6 separate regions of the Homo sapiens genome follow, and all the other regions are linked to region 1. Evidence: promoter capture Hi-C in 16 types of primary human blood cells and fetal thymus (Javierre and others, 2016). All regions are on one chromosome and are shown on one strand. The core of a region is centred on a gene start or on the middle of the fragment in contact, and the rest is flanking DNA. Distances in the headings are between cores, read along the strand shown.

Region 1 (2,700 bases), core at 176-2,675:
ATACAAGTGTCTATTTTAAAATTGAGGATTTTGAGTGATAACATATAAAAAGTTATCAGATTTCTGACAGGTTGGGAAAAGTTATTTGCAATGTCAATGCTATAAGGTTAATATCTAGGCAATATGAGGAATACCACAAGTAAATATTTAGGATATACAAGCAAACCCACAAGAAAAAGGTAGGAAACCTATTTGGAAAACAGTCCTATCAAAATGGACCCATGAGACTTTGGTTTCCTCATTTATCCATTCAATAAATATTTATTGAGTGCCTATTATACACCAACACTCTTCTAGGCCCTGGGGATACAGCAGACAAAATTCTCTGACCTCATGGAATTTAAATTCCAAAATGTTCTTTCCCACCAATAGGAAAAAGAAATTAGTTTCTACTAAGTGAATTTTCCCTTTAAATTACAATTACATAATTTTAAAGTCGGAAGGATCTTTAAGGTGCCTTTATTTTAAATTCATACTTTTGTATGGTGACAAATGGTAGCTCAGGGGCATAGAGGTTGACACCTTCCCAGCATTTAGACTATAAGCTCGACGGTTAAGTGGATTCAGAATGGCAGAGACTAAATCCCGACTTTTCTTCTACAGCCTATGTTGGCAACGGGTCTGAGCTTCAGTTTATTCATCAGTATAATGGCACCAATGATGAGACTTCACATAAAATTGGTATAAATATAAATATGGTATTTTGAAACAGAACTGCATCGGACACATGGTAAAAACTCAATGTTAGCTATTTTTATTTCTATACTTTGATTATGATATGATTCTACAATTATTTTCCTGTACACCATACTTCAAAAATGGTAACCTCTCTGGGTTACCAATCAAGTAACTAATTTTTTAAAGTAATCATCAAAAAAGGAAGTTATATACTCTTTATTATATTATACCCTAAAAGTTTATGAAATGTGTCTCATGGATTAACCATTTACCCTCATGTGTGAAATCTCAACTCAGGATTTTAGGGCTGGAAGGGATGTGACAGACGATCTTGCCAAGCCCGGCCCTTCTTCTACAAGGACGTCTTCAGAGATCTGGAGGAGGAAAGGGCCTTGCCCTGAGTTCGCTGAGCCAGAACAATAGGACTTCTTCTGTAGTTGTGAAACTTGTCAGTTGTTGAAGTCAGGTTAATGTCATCTGGCTGGCTTTTTAAAAGGGTGTGAAGTGAGAACATGAATAATTGTCACTTGATTAGAGACCTAGACTCAGAGTTAGGTTACTCCATGTATGAAGTAACCCCATATAGTTACTTCATACATGGAGTAACCATATAGTTACTCCATGTATGAAAAATTGCAAGACTGTTGACTGTCATTCTTTGGTTTAGTGGGTGGAGCCAGCTGTCCTCATTAGATAAAGGTTGTTTATTCAACCCAAGTATAAATGGAAAAAAAAGATGCGCCCTCTGTCACTGAGGGTTGACTGACTGGAGAGCTCAAGTGCAGCAAAGAGAAGTGTCAGAGCATGAGCGCCAAGTCCAGAACCATAGGGATTATTGGAGCTCCTTTCTCAAAGGGACAGGTAAGGAAAAAAGTCTTTCTTTGAATTCCTGGAATTTAGTTGAAAATTTTGGACTTCAAAATTTGTAAGGTGTTATTGTCTAGTTAGTTCAGTTTTCTGATACAATCTGGCCAGGAAATGCATATTTTAAAGTCCTCTCACCATTTTCCAACATTGTATAATTATAGTCACATATCCACTTACTTTTGTGGCTCGTGATCTCAGCCAAGGCTAAATTCATTTGAACCTACAGAATGTTTTCTCATATTTTTTAGGAGAAAATATTTTTCTTTGAATTGAAATGGACTCTTTCTGCATTGTAGCTACTCATTGAGGTTTAGTTGCTCTTGTTGTTTTTGATGTTACTGTGTGTATGTAGAGGAAGAGAGAATTTTAAGAAATACATTTGTTTAGTTATGTAATTAATGCCTAGAAAAATTTAATAGTTTGGTGGTAACCTTCAGGCTTCTTATAATTTGGATAACCTAAATATTATTGTTTCATGCAACTTTGTGAATAATTCATGTTATGTTAGGGTTTTAATGTTTCTATGAAACTGTTCATTCATGGACTAGGTAGAATCCTTTATGTGCCTCACTTGGAAGGGGAAAAAAAGAACAAAAAAAGAAAGAAAATCCTACTGCGGGTTGGCAACTCTAAAAGGATTTTAATGGATTTATGAAACCCCCAGATTTCCTTACAGCCACGAGCTGTGAATCCACACATGCCAGCAACATTGAATACACTTTTTTTTCTGCCTGGGCACACTTATTCTAGTAAAGAGAGTGTGATGACAGAACACCTTAGACTTCAACACGCATCTGTGCTTAAAGAGGATAAAAAACAAAGAACAAAATCAAACAAGACAATGTATGAGTTGAAACTACTAAGGTTGATTTTCTCCAGGTTTCTCAGGATCTGGGCAGCGTTTTGCTTCCTCTTAATTTGGAACCCTTGCTGTGTACTCTGACTTTTTACTGCAAAACAAATTGAGAGAGGCCAGAGGTTAGAGGCCCAAACTGCATTTGGACTGTCAGTAAATACTACTTTGCTTCCCCTGGAAATCCTCCAAAAGTCTCTCCCAAACACAGGGACATTTTGCTGACACAGAAATGTTCCTTTTAAAATCCACACTGTTCTCACCCACTCTTGAACAGGTTATAATAAATATATAATTTAAAA
Region 2 (2,750 bases), core at 200-2,699, 670 kb before region 1:
TATATTCGTATATAACATACACTTGGCTGTATTGTGCCATAAAGAATGAATAAGTCAAGCAACCATATCATAAATGGCTTGTTAAAAGTTAAAACACTGCTATTTATACGTAAAATTTAACTGCTATTTTGATAGATCATGTGTAGGATAACTTTAAAAAAGTAAAACTATGGGGGAAAGGGCAGGTATTATTTTCCTAATGGAATCCAAATAATTCCACTAGCCTGAATTTAGAGTTTGACTTCAAGTTCATAATATTTTTAAATTAAAAAAATGTGTGTGTGTATATATGTTATTCCTTTTTTTTTTTTCTGAGACAGAGTCTCACTCTGTCGCCCAGGTTGCAGTGCCGTGGCATGATCATGGCTCACTGCAACCTCAACGTCCCAGGCCTAAGTGATCCTCCCATCCTAGCCTCCCAAGTAGCTGGGACCACAGGCATGCGCTACGATGTCCGGCTAACTTATTTTTTACTCTTTCAGAGACGGGGTCTCCCTATGTTGCCAGGCTTGTCTCGAATCCCTGGGCTTAAGCAATCTCCCGGCCTCAGCCTCTCAAAGTGTTGGGATTACAGGCATGAACCACCACGCCCAGCCAAGTTATTCCATTCTATACATATTTAAAGACCTTATGAGATGTTTAATTTATGAACCTGAAGAAAAATTCCTTGAATCCCATTCTCTTGTTCAGTGTGGCATTTTGTCCTTTGTCTTACCATCAGCACACTACCTTTTCACTCACTCAAATATTTATTAAATGGCTACTGTTGTATACAAATGCATTTTTTGCTGGATTTTGGCTCAATGCACCACTGATTCAACCAATGAAGTCAATCCTGCTGAACTTAAGAAGCAGATTTCAGTTCTGCTTTACACATTTAAAACATAATAATGGGATATAAGATTTTCCTGAATATCAAGATATATGAGGTTTCTTGGCCTATAGCGCCATGATGACTGTCAAATATCCATGCATCGTGTTTGTGTAAGCATTTCTTCAAGGTGACTGCTAGTCTCGAATTAAGTAAAGTTATCACAGGATTATCATTTCTTAATGGCTCCTTGTTTGTTTTCTAGGTAATAACACTAGAACATGCTTGCCTGGACAGGACTCGGAGACATTTCTACTAGACCACATATTTTCTAATATACTTCCAAATCTAAAAGCTGTTGAAATGTACCAATAATGCTAAGCTTTTTTAAAACTGACAATTAAAAATGGTATACATTTTGGTACAAAATATGATATTTTAAAATACGTATACATTGTGGAATGGCTAAATTGACCTAATTAACATATGCATTACTCTTCACATACTATTTTTGCAGTGAGAGCACTTAAAATCTACTCCCTTAGCAGTTTTCAAGTTAAACTTTTAATTTGATTACATATTATCATCATAATTTTTACCTAGCTGTTTATAAACAGTCCTTCTAGCTACAGAAATGTTTACATACTAGTCATACGCAAGCCTTAGACATATAGTCTTATTTATGTTTCAGAAAATAAAGGTTTTAAGGCAAATTTTAAATGAGAATCATTAAGTTGTTGGTTGTCATAGGTAGCTCAAAAAAGATTAATATTTATCTTCGCTAACTGCCTATGAGCTGAAAAATAAAAATAAAATTATAGCAGACACCAAGGATAGAATAGGCAGGTTTTTTGGTCCATTTTAATACAGAAAGAAAGAGGTAGATACAACTGCTAAAGCTTCATTTCCTCAGCCTGCTTTCATGATGGGTACAGTACAGGATGCCATTTAAAGAACTGGTTCCAACAGTTTTAAAAAGTCTAATCTTACTGTTACTCATATTGCCAAACCACAAGGGTAAAAGTTCTGAAATAACTTTTTGAAACTTCACAGATAATCAAAACATAAGAACATGATTCATAATCGGCAAGAGGTTTGGCTTCCAAAAGTTAGGAAATCTCCATGACTCTGAAGAGAGTGGCACAAAAAAAAAATAATAATAATAATCAAACAAGAACCCAAACAAAACCATAGGAAACAACTCAATGGAACATCAATCATGTTTCAGAGGTTGCCCTGTTCTCTCTGTTTGGGTCACTTGGCAGGTCTGGTTTCAGAGAAAGTGTAAGAACTAAGCATCCGTAACCTTTTTGAATGCATGCACTTTGCAAAGTAACAACTGCAGAAGGGACAAAGGAAAAAGTTTCAAAGCTCTGGTACTGTTTCTTCCATAAGGTAAGCATAATGTATCTGGTGTCTACTTATTCCTCTTCTTTTTCTCCCTTTTCCATCATGAAGCAAGCATAAATGGATGAAACACCAAGAAAATAAATGCAAGAAAGAGAATGTGGGAAACCAGGAATAATAATCAAAAGGATAGTGACCAACCATTCCAGCCTGCCTGGGACTGGTTCCAGCTTTAGCACTTAAAGTCTCATATCCTGAGAAGCCCCTCAGTCCTGGGCAAATCAGGAGGTTGGTCACTCTAATCAAAGACGTTTTTAAAAAGGAAAAGAAAGATGAGTCTACAGGAAGAGGAAATGGGAAAAATAAGGTATATGCTCAGAATAAAAAAAGAGAGTAGGGAAGCAAAGAAATGACAGGAAGACTACCAAAAAGATAAATAATTCGAGAGAGAAAGAAATAAAGAAAACAAATGTGAAGAACCTAAAATGGGAGCTAGATGGTAGATGAAAAGGGCAAGAAGGGAAAGGACAGATTGGTTTCAGTATTTTGACCTTAGGAATAATAAGTAAGTAAGGAAATGAAATCAACAGTA
Region 3 (2,700 bases), core at 135-2,634, 730 kb before region 1:
CAGTCAAATGAAGCACAGTATCTGTTCTACAAATAATTCAGCAAAATGCTTTTGCTTTTCCTGGTTTGCTGGAACATGTTCATGCTGTTTGGAGACCCCACCTTCTTAGGAGGCTCTTCTGTGGGTCCTTTAAGGCCCAAGTCCCATCTTCAGGCCTTTTGGGACTGGGTTGACCTTCCTGAGCCCTGTGTCCTCTGAATGAACTGTATTACTCTCAAAGGCCTACATGCTAATATAACTTTACTTCAAATAGTAATAAAGATACTGAGCTTCATCTGACTGAAAAGCAAAAAAATATCGGATTTAACTTTTATAGATGTTCCTATGATATTTTACTCCTGGCTTTGCTTCCAAGTTAAATTCAATCTTACTCTTAGAGATGTCCAGTTCAGTATCCCCATTACTAACTGTCTGAACCAGTATCTTGATTTCTTTACAGGGTACTTCATCTAATCTAGAAGCTTTTCAGTCAATCATACACACTACTGATAAATTCATATTACTAAAGGACATGGCATGTAAGACCATCTGCAATTTGCCTTCAACAAATGTTTCCAGCTGTGCTGAGAACTCTATACATAACCACGATGGAGGTTTGCTTTTCCCGACATCCTTCCCATTGTTTTCCCATGTGCTCTTTCTTCCCTCCCCAATCTCCAACTATCCAGATTGCCCTTGGTGCTTTGCACAGAGGAGCTTTCCTGCAACCTTTCTGGAGAGCTTTGTCTTGTTTGGCCAATCAGAAGCATTTCTCCTGTCAACTTCCACAGCCCTTTATCTAGGCTTCTCTTCAAATATACTATTTTTGTGCCCTGAACATTATTTTTATGCATGTTCCTATGCCTTCCCCTCTCACACACAACTATAATAGTCCCTTGAACATAACAGGCTCATAATATAGATTAATGAATCCAGAAGTGAAAGTATCAGGGACTAATTTGTAACGTAAGACTGAAGAATAAGAGCTTGAGGAAACGGCAGGGAAAAAAAACAACAGAATTGCATTATATCTTTAGGAAGAAGCACTAATTCCCATGTTTACCATTACTCTCATCTGCCAATTTTCTTGTTTAAGTAGAAAAACATCAGGTTCATTTTTCTGTTCTCTTTTGTTGATTAACTATATCTATGATATCCCATGAGGACTCTTACTTCTTTAAAAAACTGGTTTCCTCAAATCACTGAAGCCGTAACACAAGTTTCTAAAAGTAGTAGTGCCGGCCCTAAAGCTGTTAAGGTCTTCTGGTTCACTCTGCTAGGTCAAATCTTCTGGGAATTTGATATAAAAGCGTTCTACAAAATCTTAAAGCTTCTTTTAAATAACAAATGAACTATGGTCAGGCTCCACTCAGTATACTCTATTAGAGCTGAGCTTTTGTCACTTAGGTTCATAAGATGGGTAGTAATGAGAAAACATTTCTCTGTAGCATCAAATAAGAGCTTAAAAATACAAACTAACAAAGCTTTCATCTTTTAGAAAAAAGGAAGGTTAGTGGGAATCAAAAGAAATTTCTAGACCCAACTTTCTCACTTTTTATCTGAGGGAACATGGGAAAAAAATCACTTTTCCTCAAAGTTAAATAAAGATAGCTTAAAACACTATTCCCTGCCCCCTAACAGTCTCTGTCTCTCTCTGTCTCTCTCTCTCTCTCTCACACACACACACACACACACACACACACACACACACACACACAGAATCTAAACTGCATCGTGCCATATTAGTTTAAGGTTGTCCTCTCACTTCATCCCTCCTACCCTCCACAGATCAACACTGTCCAAGAGAAATATACTGCAAGCAATGAATGTGAGCCACATATGTAAATTTTCTAGAAGCCACATTTCAAAAAATAAAAAGGAACATGTATATGTAATTTTAATGTAGTTATTAAACCCAATATATCCAAATTATTATTTCAATAAGTAATTAATTTAAAAATTAGAAATAATTTACTTTTTTCTCATGTCTGAAATCCAGTAAATATCTTATACTTACAACATATCTCAATTTGAACTAGCCACATTTCAAGTGCTCAATAGCCACAAGTGGGTATTGGCTACCATACTGGACAGAACAGGTCCAGACTTCCATGTGCTCTAATGCTAACTCAACTATTTTGATGCAAGAAAGCATCAATATGTCCTTGGACTGTAATCCTCGTAAGGACAGGAGTATCTTTACAAAAACACACACATACACAAACTTGTTAATTAGTTGCCATAGTAAAATTCCCCTCTGATGCCACCCACAAAATTTACATGTTTAAACAATTGGTATCTGGGGTATCTAACAGAAAAGCCTTGAGATAAATCAATCTATACTTAGCACAGGTGACCTATGACAGTTACGTTAATGTCTAGGATCCTATTTCCTTATAAAGAAGGTTAGAGGAGAGACACGAAGATGCTCTACAGGCAGTTTAACATTAAATATTCTTTACATTTCCAGACTCTCAAACACAGCCTAGGACAGGGTAACAAAGTCATAACCACCACCCCAACACGGTCAGAGGCCAGATGGGTAACATATATGCATAAGGAGACTGGGCCCCAAGGGCCTCAACATAAAGACAGGATATGACAGGCAGTAGCACTGTGGTGACCTAGAGAGCTCCTCCCAGCCTGATGCTGGCCACACCTACTAAGCTCCAGCATAGTAACCACAGGGAGAGCAGGCTCAATGTCATCAGAGCTTCTGAT
Region 4 (2,700 bases), core at 135-2,634, 640 kb before region 1:
CACACACACACACACACACACACACACACACACACATACACGCACAGTCATAAAGTGGTATAAACAGTAGGAAAGACAGCGAGAAGGCAATTAGCAGAAGCCAAAGGTATCACGAGGCCAACCTATATTTGCCAAAGTTATTTTCCACTGGTCCCACTCATCCCATGAGTTATATACACCACTCATTCCCAAAAAGAGCAGCAGAGTGAGACAAGAAAAATTCTCCTTGTTGCATATGATTACTGAGCACCAAAACACCTATTTGTATAACAGACACCCTGAGGAGTCCTGCAATGCAAAAACCCTGTTTCCCATTATTCCTTTCACTTGGGAAACCTGATGTTTCCCAAAACTATTTAGCAAAAGAGCCCACTATTTTTTAATACAACATTTACTAATGTATTCTACAACAGAATTTTTGTTTTAAAGACCACACCTCACTAAATGAGGTAGGAAAGAATTACAGGTTGAGCATCCCAAATCCAAAAACCCAAAATATGAAATGCTCCAAAATCCAAAAGTTTTTTAACGCCAACATTATGCTCAAAGAAAATGCTCATTGGAGCATTTCGGATTTCCAATTTCTTGATTTGGAGTGCTCAAGTATTACAAAATCTGAAAAAACTTGAAATACAAAATATTTCTGGTCCCAAGCATTTCAGATAAAAGATACTCAACCTGTACCACCATCTGACTCTAACGCAGATGTAGACACTGGTATTCACATCTGTTTGATTCAAAAATGCCAAAAGATAATCCAGTTTAAACTGGTCCAAGATTAGATATGCCCAGCTGCCTGGGAGAAGCAAGAAATTCTCATAGACAAAAATCTCAAAAAACATACATTAAAAATCACAAAACGACAAGGAAACCAGACACCATTATTGAGAGACACAGTATCAGAATCAGATCTTCAGAGACTGCACATAGTAGAATTATCAAGAACAAAACACAAAATATATATGTTTTATGTGTTTATAAGAAATATTTTAAAATATGACTAAGGAAAAAGTGAATATGAAAAAGCAGGTTTTGAAAATAATCAAATAAAACACCTAGAAATGAAAACTATAGTAACTAAATTATAATCCAAATGGACAGGATATGACAAAGCTGAAGAGAAAACCAGTGAACTGGAAGATAGATCTGAAAAAAACTATCCAGAATGTGGCTGAGAAAGACAAAGGGAAGGACAATATGAAAGAACTTCACAGACATGGAGAACAGAATGAGGGGTCTACAAATATCTCATCAGAGTCCTAGATGGAGATGAGAGAGAATAAGGGAAAGGCAATATTAAAAGAAACAACGCTATAAAACTTCAAATTAAGAAAGCTCAATGAATCCCTAGCAAAATTAATAAAATTTATTAATCTACAATGATTTTATTCTACTAATTTATTATTTATACTCAACATATAAAAGGTTCTAACACGCATTATTTTTTTAAATAGCTATAATAAAGTCATCAAGACAAGAGGGAATGAAACATAAGCTAGGGAATAAAAAGAAGGACTGAGAAGGAAAATTGTAACAAAAAAACACAGAAAAGTCACTCCTAAGAAACCTAAAACAGATGTGCTTTGGAGGCTTATTCAAAAAGGCAAACAAAATAAGTAGTACATTTCTTCTTATATTCTAAAAAGCATCAGATTATCAGGTGACACATATTAAATGCTACATATGAATGTTCCAAGTTATAACATTTATAGCACTAATGTTCAATCAAACTCGATTGGGTCGGCTCAGACAGCAACACCATCTAGTGGCTCACAACTTTGTCTTCACACTGTTCACAACACATTCCATAAATAATAATTCTCTTTGGGGTGGGGGTGAAGAACCAAGGCACAATGCATAATGGTAGCACATAAAAATGTACAGGGGCATGTAAGTTGAAATTGTTCCTCAAAATAGTTCTTCCTTTCCCCCGAGATTCTGGTATGTTCCATCTTTCTTGAGAATCACCAATTCTTAACAATACGGAAGAAAAGTACTGCAGTATAATCACAGTGTCCTGGGCTTGACCCCCAGCCCTACTCTTAACAGCTCTGTAACCACAGTAAGTTACGTAACTTCTCTATGCCTCAGTTCCGCTCTTTAAAAGTACCCACCTTATAATGGTGATGAGATAATTAAATGAAGTATGTTTAAAGTGATCAATAAAATGTTTGGCTTATTACATGGATTCATTAAAGCCAGCTGAAATTACAAGACCTTTTTGAGCTGCTCTAAAATAATAATTGATTTTAAATATGATTTTAAAGTTTTCCATTATCTAATCAAACTTTCTTATTTCACAAATAAGAAAAATAAGGTTATAGAAAGTTTATCTAATTTTTCAGTCTGATTTCTGAATTTCTTTTAAAATAATTAAATTATTATGTATGCTCTTAATATACACTAATATTCCACACTTCTATCCAGGAAAGTAATTTTCTTCCATTAACATTGCTTTTAAAAAAAAAAAAATCAACAACTTGAATTCTACTGTATAAAAAGGACTACAAATATACATTTGTTAACCAAGCAAAATATACACATAATTTTGCTTCATAACTTTCACCTAAGATACCAGTACACGTAGTTGCTTCATTAGTTGTCACAGCAATTTTGGGGTATTGCCCCAGATAAAGAGAACCACTTACTGACTTATCAAGACATATTCTAATTTTTTTCCTCTGATTTATTTACAAGTGT
Region 5 (2,700 bases), core at 27-2,526, 690 kb before region 1:
TCCTGACCTTGTGATCTGCCCTCCTTGGCCTCCTAAAGTGCTGTGGTTAGAGGTGTGAGCCACCGTGCCCAGCCTCCAGCAGTTTTTTTTAATAAAGAAACTTCTAACAAGATCTAAATAAGTTTCCCTTGGAAAGTATATGGCTATGATTAATTCTTTTGCTTACAATTATGATTTCTACACACCTATTATACATACTCAGAAATTTTGCAAAATGAAAAAAATCTGACCTAGAAATGGCTTCAAATGTAATGATATTAAAATTTGAATATCAAATTAAAAGTTATTAAAGTTGACAAAATGCTGACTTTGCATACTTTTAAACACTTATTAATTTCAGCATGCAGTTTCTTGTATTTTGAAGCCGATACATTTATTCAGGTCTTAAACATCTGAGAAGCTTGTAGGCCCTGGCAGAGCCCAAGATACCAAATGGCTAATTGGCCTACTCCCACTAAAGGGAAGACCACCATCGCTTTCACCTGGACCATTCCTAACCAGCCTGCCTGCTTCCTTGCTCAATCTAATTGTTCTCTTGCATCAAATGATTTTTTTTTTAAAAGATAACGCTGTGCTCTTGCGGGCACATAAACCCACATAAACCCTTCAATGGTTTCCTAGAGCATATGGAATAAATAAAAACCACATTCTTCACCATGGCCTCCAAGGCCCTGCATGATCTGACCCAGGCTTACCTCTCCCGCCACTTCCTAAGCTCTGACTGCACTTGCCTTCTCTCTGTTCCAGGAATGTATCCAGCTCTCCCTCACCTTATAGCTTCATCGTTGCCGCCTCTGCTACCTGGAATGCTTTATTATTAAATATCTCTTGTCCTTTCCTTGGCTGCCTCCTTCTCATCCTTCAAGTCTCAACTGACCTGGTTCTTCCTCAAATAGGCCTTCCTTCCCTGATGATCCTATTTAAGTAACGTCCCTGTTCATTTTACTTTCCACCTTCAGGAAATCACTTGGTTCCTCAACCCCCAAATGCATCTTGGTTGTTGGTTCTCTTAAATGACTGATTTGTCTTCTTTGGGGTTTGATTTTCTAATCTCGGAGGGGACTCCCTGTCCTAAAACAGCTGTTCTAGATTGATTTTCATTTTGATATTTGATCTTTAGATTGAATCCCACTTTTCACTTGCTATGTAATCATAAGAGGATTTATTTTAATTTGCCAAACTTTAAAGTGAGGCTAATATACCTAAATTATTCTAGCCTTACTTAAAAAGTAAACAGGAAAAAGAAAATACAATACATGAAGACTACAACAACAAATGGTATGTTGATAAGGAGTGGTAAAGAAAATAAAAGCTCAGTGCCAGGTTACAGCCTAGCTTTGCTCTGGGGGAAAAAACGGAGAATATAAGCCCTAATCAAAGAGTTCACTGGCTGTCTGGTCATGTATTGGCGTTAAAAGCCTCCTATTTTTCACAATAACACAATAATCCTTTTGATGACTTACCCATCTGATGAATTACGGCCTCCAAAACACAAAGAGAAAAATAATGGATTACTGTGCCATGTTTGTTGTTTTCACTTGGAAAAATCATTGTTTTCAGATACAGACCTCCTGTAACCCTCTGCACTAACTGCCCATACAAGATGGTGGATTTCCTTGAGCACAGTTTGTATACCTCAAAGAAAATGCTGTTTTACTGCTCTTTTTAAATGCTAAACTTTGCAATATAAGAGTTATACAGCCTCACAGTTTCAAACAAATGCTGAAAACAGACAGTGTTCCAGAAAGAGCAATCATTTCTCTCAGGGTACTAAACAACAGTGACTGCATTTATTCGGCACTTGTATAAATTCTCTGTGGCAAGGGGCAAGGCTTGGGAAATATTTACATGGGTTGGCACATTTTTCAGATTTACTTGGAAAAGTGCTCAGTTGTTGAAGACCTAAAAGATACTTTAGCAGTGATAGTACATTAACAATCAACTGAATTTAAATCATTTCCACAATTCTGGAAATTTGTTTAAAGCACAGTTCACCACCCCCTTGCACATTTCAGGATTTAATAACTATATACCAAAATCCCAACCAACAAATCCTGGCAAATATCTCTATGTGTCCACCTGCATTTGTTTTCCAAGTTTTTCTTCTAGAAAAAGCAGATGAAGGCAATCCATATGAATCCTTCACTATTAAGAAAGCTTTTTCATCTGTTAGCATTATTTGATCTGTTTTACTCCAATTATTTAAAATATAAGTTGTTCGAGCATATATTTCAGAAAAATACAATAGACAAGAAAAAATGTTTCTGCTAATAACTAGTAGTAAAATACAATTTTCAAATTTAGTATTATTATTATATATATATTTTAGTTCAATCAACCAAAAATGTTGGAAAACTATTTCTTTGGGTAGAAAATCATCCATACTAATCATTTTCTATTACAAAGAAAGAATATTCCTTCACAAGGCATTCTAATATAAATTTAACCTTAGCTCTTTTATAGAAAACCTATTATTAACCCATTTTGGACCAGGTAATTTATATATATATTTTTCCATGTGTAGTTTATATAAAACTTATTTCATGTGTAGTTTATATAAAACTACAAAATGTAGCTAATTAGAATTCTAATAGAAAAAAATTCACATTTATACATATTTTCCCTTGGGCTAAAGAACAAACAAACACATTATATTTACTTTTTGTTAAAATGCTGTATTTAAAATGAATCCTTTGAAGC
Region 6 (2,700 bases), core at 111-2,610, 710 kb before region 1:
CTATCGTTAGCTCCTACTCCCCAGCTGAGATAGTCAATTGAATATTTCTTTTCCTTTTCTTCAAGTTGTTATAAAAGGAAAACAGCTTGGTCTCCTTTAAAGCTGAGTTAAAATCACTTTTAAAAAAATTGTCAGCATCACTTGGGACTGCAGTCTAAAATTAAAACTGCTCTCAAAGTCTCCAGCAGTTCCATTCATCACCTGCTCAAAGCCATGCATGCTGCCAAATTTAACATTAGAATGGAGGCATGATTCTTTTAAAAAATTTTCAGAATCAATGTAAATTTTCACTTTGTAAGAAACCTTGTATTACCTCCCCTCCCCCAATAATCGCAATAGGAGAAAACACCTGGAAGTAAATAGCTCAACTTTTCTAATGCCATAAATATACTTGAAAAGTTCCTAAAAGTAGGCATAGGTCAAGCTTAGTGGCTTTCTTCATTTTTTGGAAACTGGTGCATTGAACTGCCATTCATTTTTAAATATTTGATCACTTGCCTTTAAACCAGGCCCACACGAATCTTATGTTTTCCAGAAATCCTCCAGATTACGTTGACCCAAAAGTGCATGTAAAGCCAGTGGGAAATAAAGAGAAATCTGTGTTTTATTCTGATTCAGAGGTAGGAAAGCTTGTATCCAGGCTGTGTCTTTATGTCCTGCTTAGGAGGTGGACTTCATCCAGGAGGTTTGGGGAGAAGAGGTTTACACAGGTATGCGACATGATGACAAATGTGAAACTTAGAAAACAAACAGGGCCATTTCCAAAACTAGAACTTAACTTATTTACCTGGTCATGATCAATATCTCCATCTCCTGTGATCACAATGCGTTTCTCAATTCTTGTTTCAGAAATTCCACCTTTTACAGTCTAAAGGTCATAAAGGAGAAGAAGAAAAAACAGCAATCACTGAAGCACGTTTACACAGTCAGAGCAAACAGAGATGGGAGTCCACCTAGACCTGTGGATCATTGTAAGGCCACACACAACAAGCAGCAAAAGACTGATATTCTAGAAACACTTTGTGCTTTATTTTTAGGCTCAATAGAGAATCCTATTACTAAAGTTATAGCATCCACAAGTATCCCTCAGCTGAGAGCAACCTTAAAACTCATTTATCAATATTCAAGATGGCATCTGTCCCATCTTAATCTCACTTGATTAAGATAGGACAGATATTATTTAATCCAAGTAGTTCCTTTAAGGGAATTCTGTTATAGTTTCCCGAGTTTCTTTACTCCTAGCTGGCCAATTTTTAAAAAGGAGAGTAGGGAGAAATCAGTTACTTGCAGAATTACAAGAAATTATAAGAATTTAGGTATCTGTTTTTGGTTTGAGAAACTGTTTGATGTGATATATATTTTTTTCCCATCACAGAAGACTTCTGTATGATGTGATGGTTTTGACTGATGGATTCTGAGCATACAAATTTATTTGCTGATTTTGTTTATTGCATTTAGTGCAATAATTTTAAAAAGGATTTGCTTTGGTTTCAGATACGGAAGATGGATGAGATTTTTGTTGAATGTTTGATTTGATGACACCCTGCGTAAGTAGTCATACACGTAGACATGGCGCATGGCTAGACAAAGGCTGCGAGCGGGGCTGGAGGAGGGAGCTCCTGGGGGAACTGCCTCACAGCGTTATGGGCTCCGTACAAGCTGCGAGTGCCTGGGGCACACTGGATGAGGCTGAGGAGATCATCTGGCTGTGACCTTCTAAACAGTCAATAAGCAAATACCACACGGTCCTGGGAAAGCGCACATCCAACATTTACAACTCTGATAAATGTACACTCTCAGTCACAAGTGACAGCATTTTACCATAACAAACCAGGCTTATCACTATGCTTAATAACTGGATATGCTTTAAAATGAGCACCAACAGTACCTTGCATTTATGCGGCATTTTTAAATTTACAAATTACTTTTGCTGTTTTTTAAATTGTTGTTGAAACATGGGTTGGGAAGGGCACAAGGGACACCTTTAAGACCTTTAGACACTTATCCAAAGTAAAAAACAGAAGAAGGAAATAGTGGAAAATAAGGCTGGAGTTAGAAAGCTGATGACTTCAGCATGCATCAGAATCACTGGAAGCTTCTTAAGACAATTCTAAGGTTTCAGGAGGACTGGAGTGGGGCCACGCTATTTATACTTCTAACAATGCCCCGGGTGAAGCTGATGCTGCTGATCCAGGGATGACTGGTTACCCAGTGCTAAACATTTAGAGAATTATGCAGGGAGGAACAGGGGAATGCCCCAAATCAGTATACTAGCGATCTTAAATGAGGGAAATTCTACATTATTTGAACAACTTGCTGAAAATTCTGAATGATGGCCTTCATTCATTCGCTTTAGTCAGGAGGGCTGGTTTAATAAAAGTAGAAGCACAAGTTTGTTTTTATAAATTATAAATTTTATTAAATTATTTATGGTTTTGTAGCTATCTTACATATAGCTATTCGTAACATATTTTTACCCCCTTGTACTTCACAAAATTGCAATTTGGCTTGAATGCATTTGTCAATGGAGCCTAATTTCTTGGATACTTTAAACCAAGGCATTTTGATTCCGCTGGCACTGTCTGTATCTTACTTGGAAGTGTGTACAGGAAGAGAGAAACAATTCAGAAAAGATTCTGTCTGTAATGTACCATCCTCTCCATATGATCCCCTGCATTGCTTTACCTTGGTGATGTGTGT

The links. Contacts are between HindIII fragments. The CHiCAGO score rates a contact against its expected background, and 5 or more counts as called.
Region 2: a contact is called between a fragment that was not itself captured here and the fragment with the promoter of ARG1 in region 1, in 4 of 17 cell types (naive CD8 T cells, non-activated CD4 T cells, naive CD4 T cells and 1 more). The highest score is 8.6, in naive CD8 T cells.
Region 3: a fragment that was not itself captured here is called in contact with the fragment with the promoter of ARG1 in region 1 in 4 of 17 cell types (non-activated CD4 T cells, naive CD4 T cells, total CD4 T cells and 1 more); the score reaches 7.8 in non-activated CD4 T cells.
Region 4: a contact is called between a fragment that was not itself captured here and the fragment with the promoter of ARG1 in region 1, in 1 of 17 cell types (fetal thymus). The highest score is 5.3, in fetal thymus.
Region 5: a contact is called between a fragment that was not itself captured here and the fragment with the promoter of ARG1 in region 1, in 13 of 17 cell types (naive CD8 T cells, fetal thymus, total CD4 T cells and 10 more). The highest score is 14.3, in naive CD8 T cells.
Region 6: a contact is called between a fragment that was not itself captured here and the fragment with the promoter of ARG1 in region 1, in 3 of 17 cell types (activated CD4 T cells, M2 macrophages and naive CD4 T cells). The highest score is 5.5, in activated CD4 T cells.

The regions. Positions count from the first base shown.
Region 1 is chr6:131,571,801-131,574,500 of GRCh38, forward strand. It overlaps ARG1 (arginase 1), which reads left to right and starts at 1,426. Exons shown (of 8, transcript NM_000045.4): 1 at 1,426-1,539. The coding sequence starts at 1,483. It also overlaps a transcript of MED23 not described here. RefSeq lists an enhancer at 892-1,393. The HindIII fragment of the contact is 9,894 bases long and covers 1-2,700 here.
Region 2 is chr6:130,905,124-130,907,873 of GRCh38, forward strand. The region is part of intron 5 of EPB41L2 (erythrocyte membrane protein band 4.1 like 2); the gene reads right to left. Among named protein-coding and RNA genes, the nearest start is that of SMLR1, 79 kb to the left of the region's middle. The HindIII fragment of the contact is 517 bases long and covers 1,192-1,708 here.
Region 3 is chr6:130,846,547-130,849,246 of GRCh38, forward strand. The region is part of intron 19 of EPB41L2 (erythrocyte membrane protein band 4.1 like 2); the gene reads right to left. Among named protein-coding and RNA genes, the nearest start is that of SMLR1, 20 kb to the left of the region's middle. RefSeq lists an enhancer at 2,433-2,572. The HindIII fragment of the contact is 154 bases long and covers 1,308-1,461 here.
Region 4 is chr6:130,929,862-130,932,561 of GRCh38, forward strand. All of the region lies in intron 3 of EPB41L2 (erythrocyte membrane protein band 4.1 like 2), which reads right to left. Among named protein-coding and RNA genes, the nearest start is that of SMLR1, 100 kb to the left of the region's middle. RefSeq lists an enhancer at 1,627-1,796. The HindIII fragment of the contact is 4,313 bases long and covers 1-2,700 here.
Region 5 is chr6:130,886,859-130,889,558 of GRCh38, forward strand. The region is part of intron 11 of EPB41L2 (erythrocyte membrane protein band 4.1 like 2); the gene reads right to left. Among named protein-coding and RNA genes, the nearest start is that of SMLR1, 61 kb to the left of the region's middle. The HindIII fragment of the contact is 1,757 bases long and covers 399-2,155 here.
Region 6 is chr6:130,862,851-130,865,550 of GRCh38, forward strand. It overlaps EPB41L2 (erythrocyte membrane protein band 4.1 like 2), which reads right to left. Exons shown (of 20, transcript NM_001431.4): 17 at 2,686-2,700; 18 at 788-868. Among named protein-coding and RNA genes, the nearest start is that of SMLR1, 37 kb to the left of the region's middle. RefSeq lists an enhancer at 699-993. The HindIII fragment of the contact is 1,466 bases long and covers 628-2,093 here.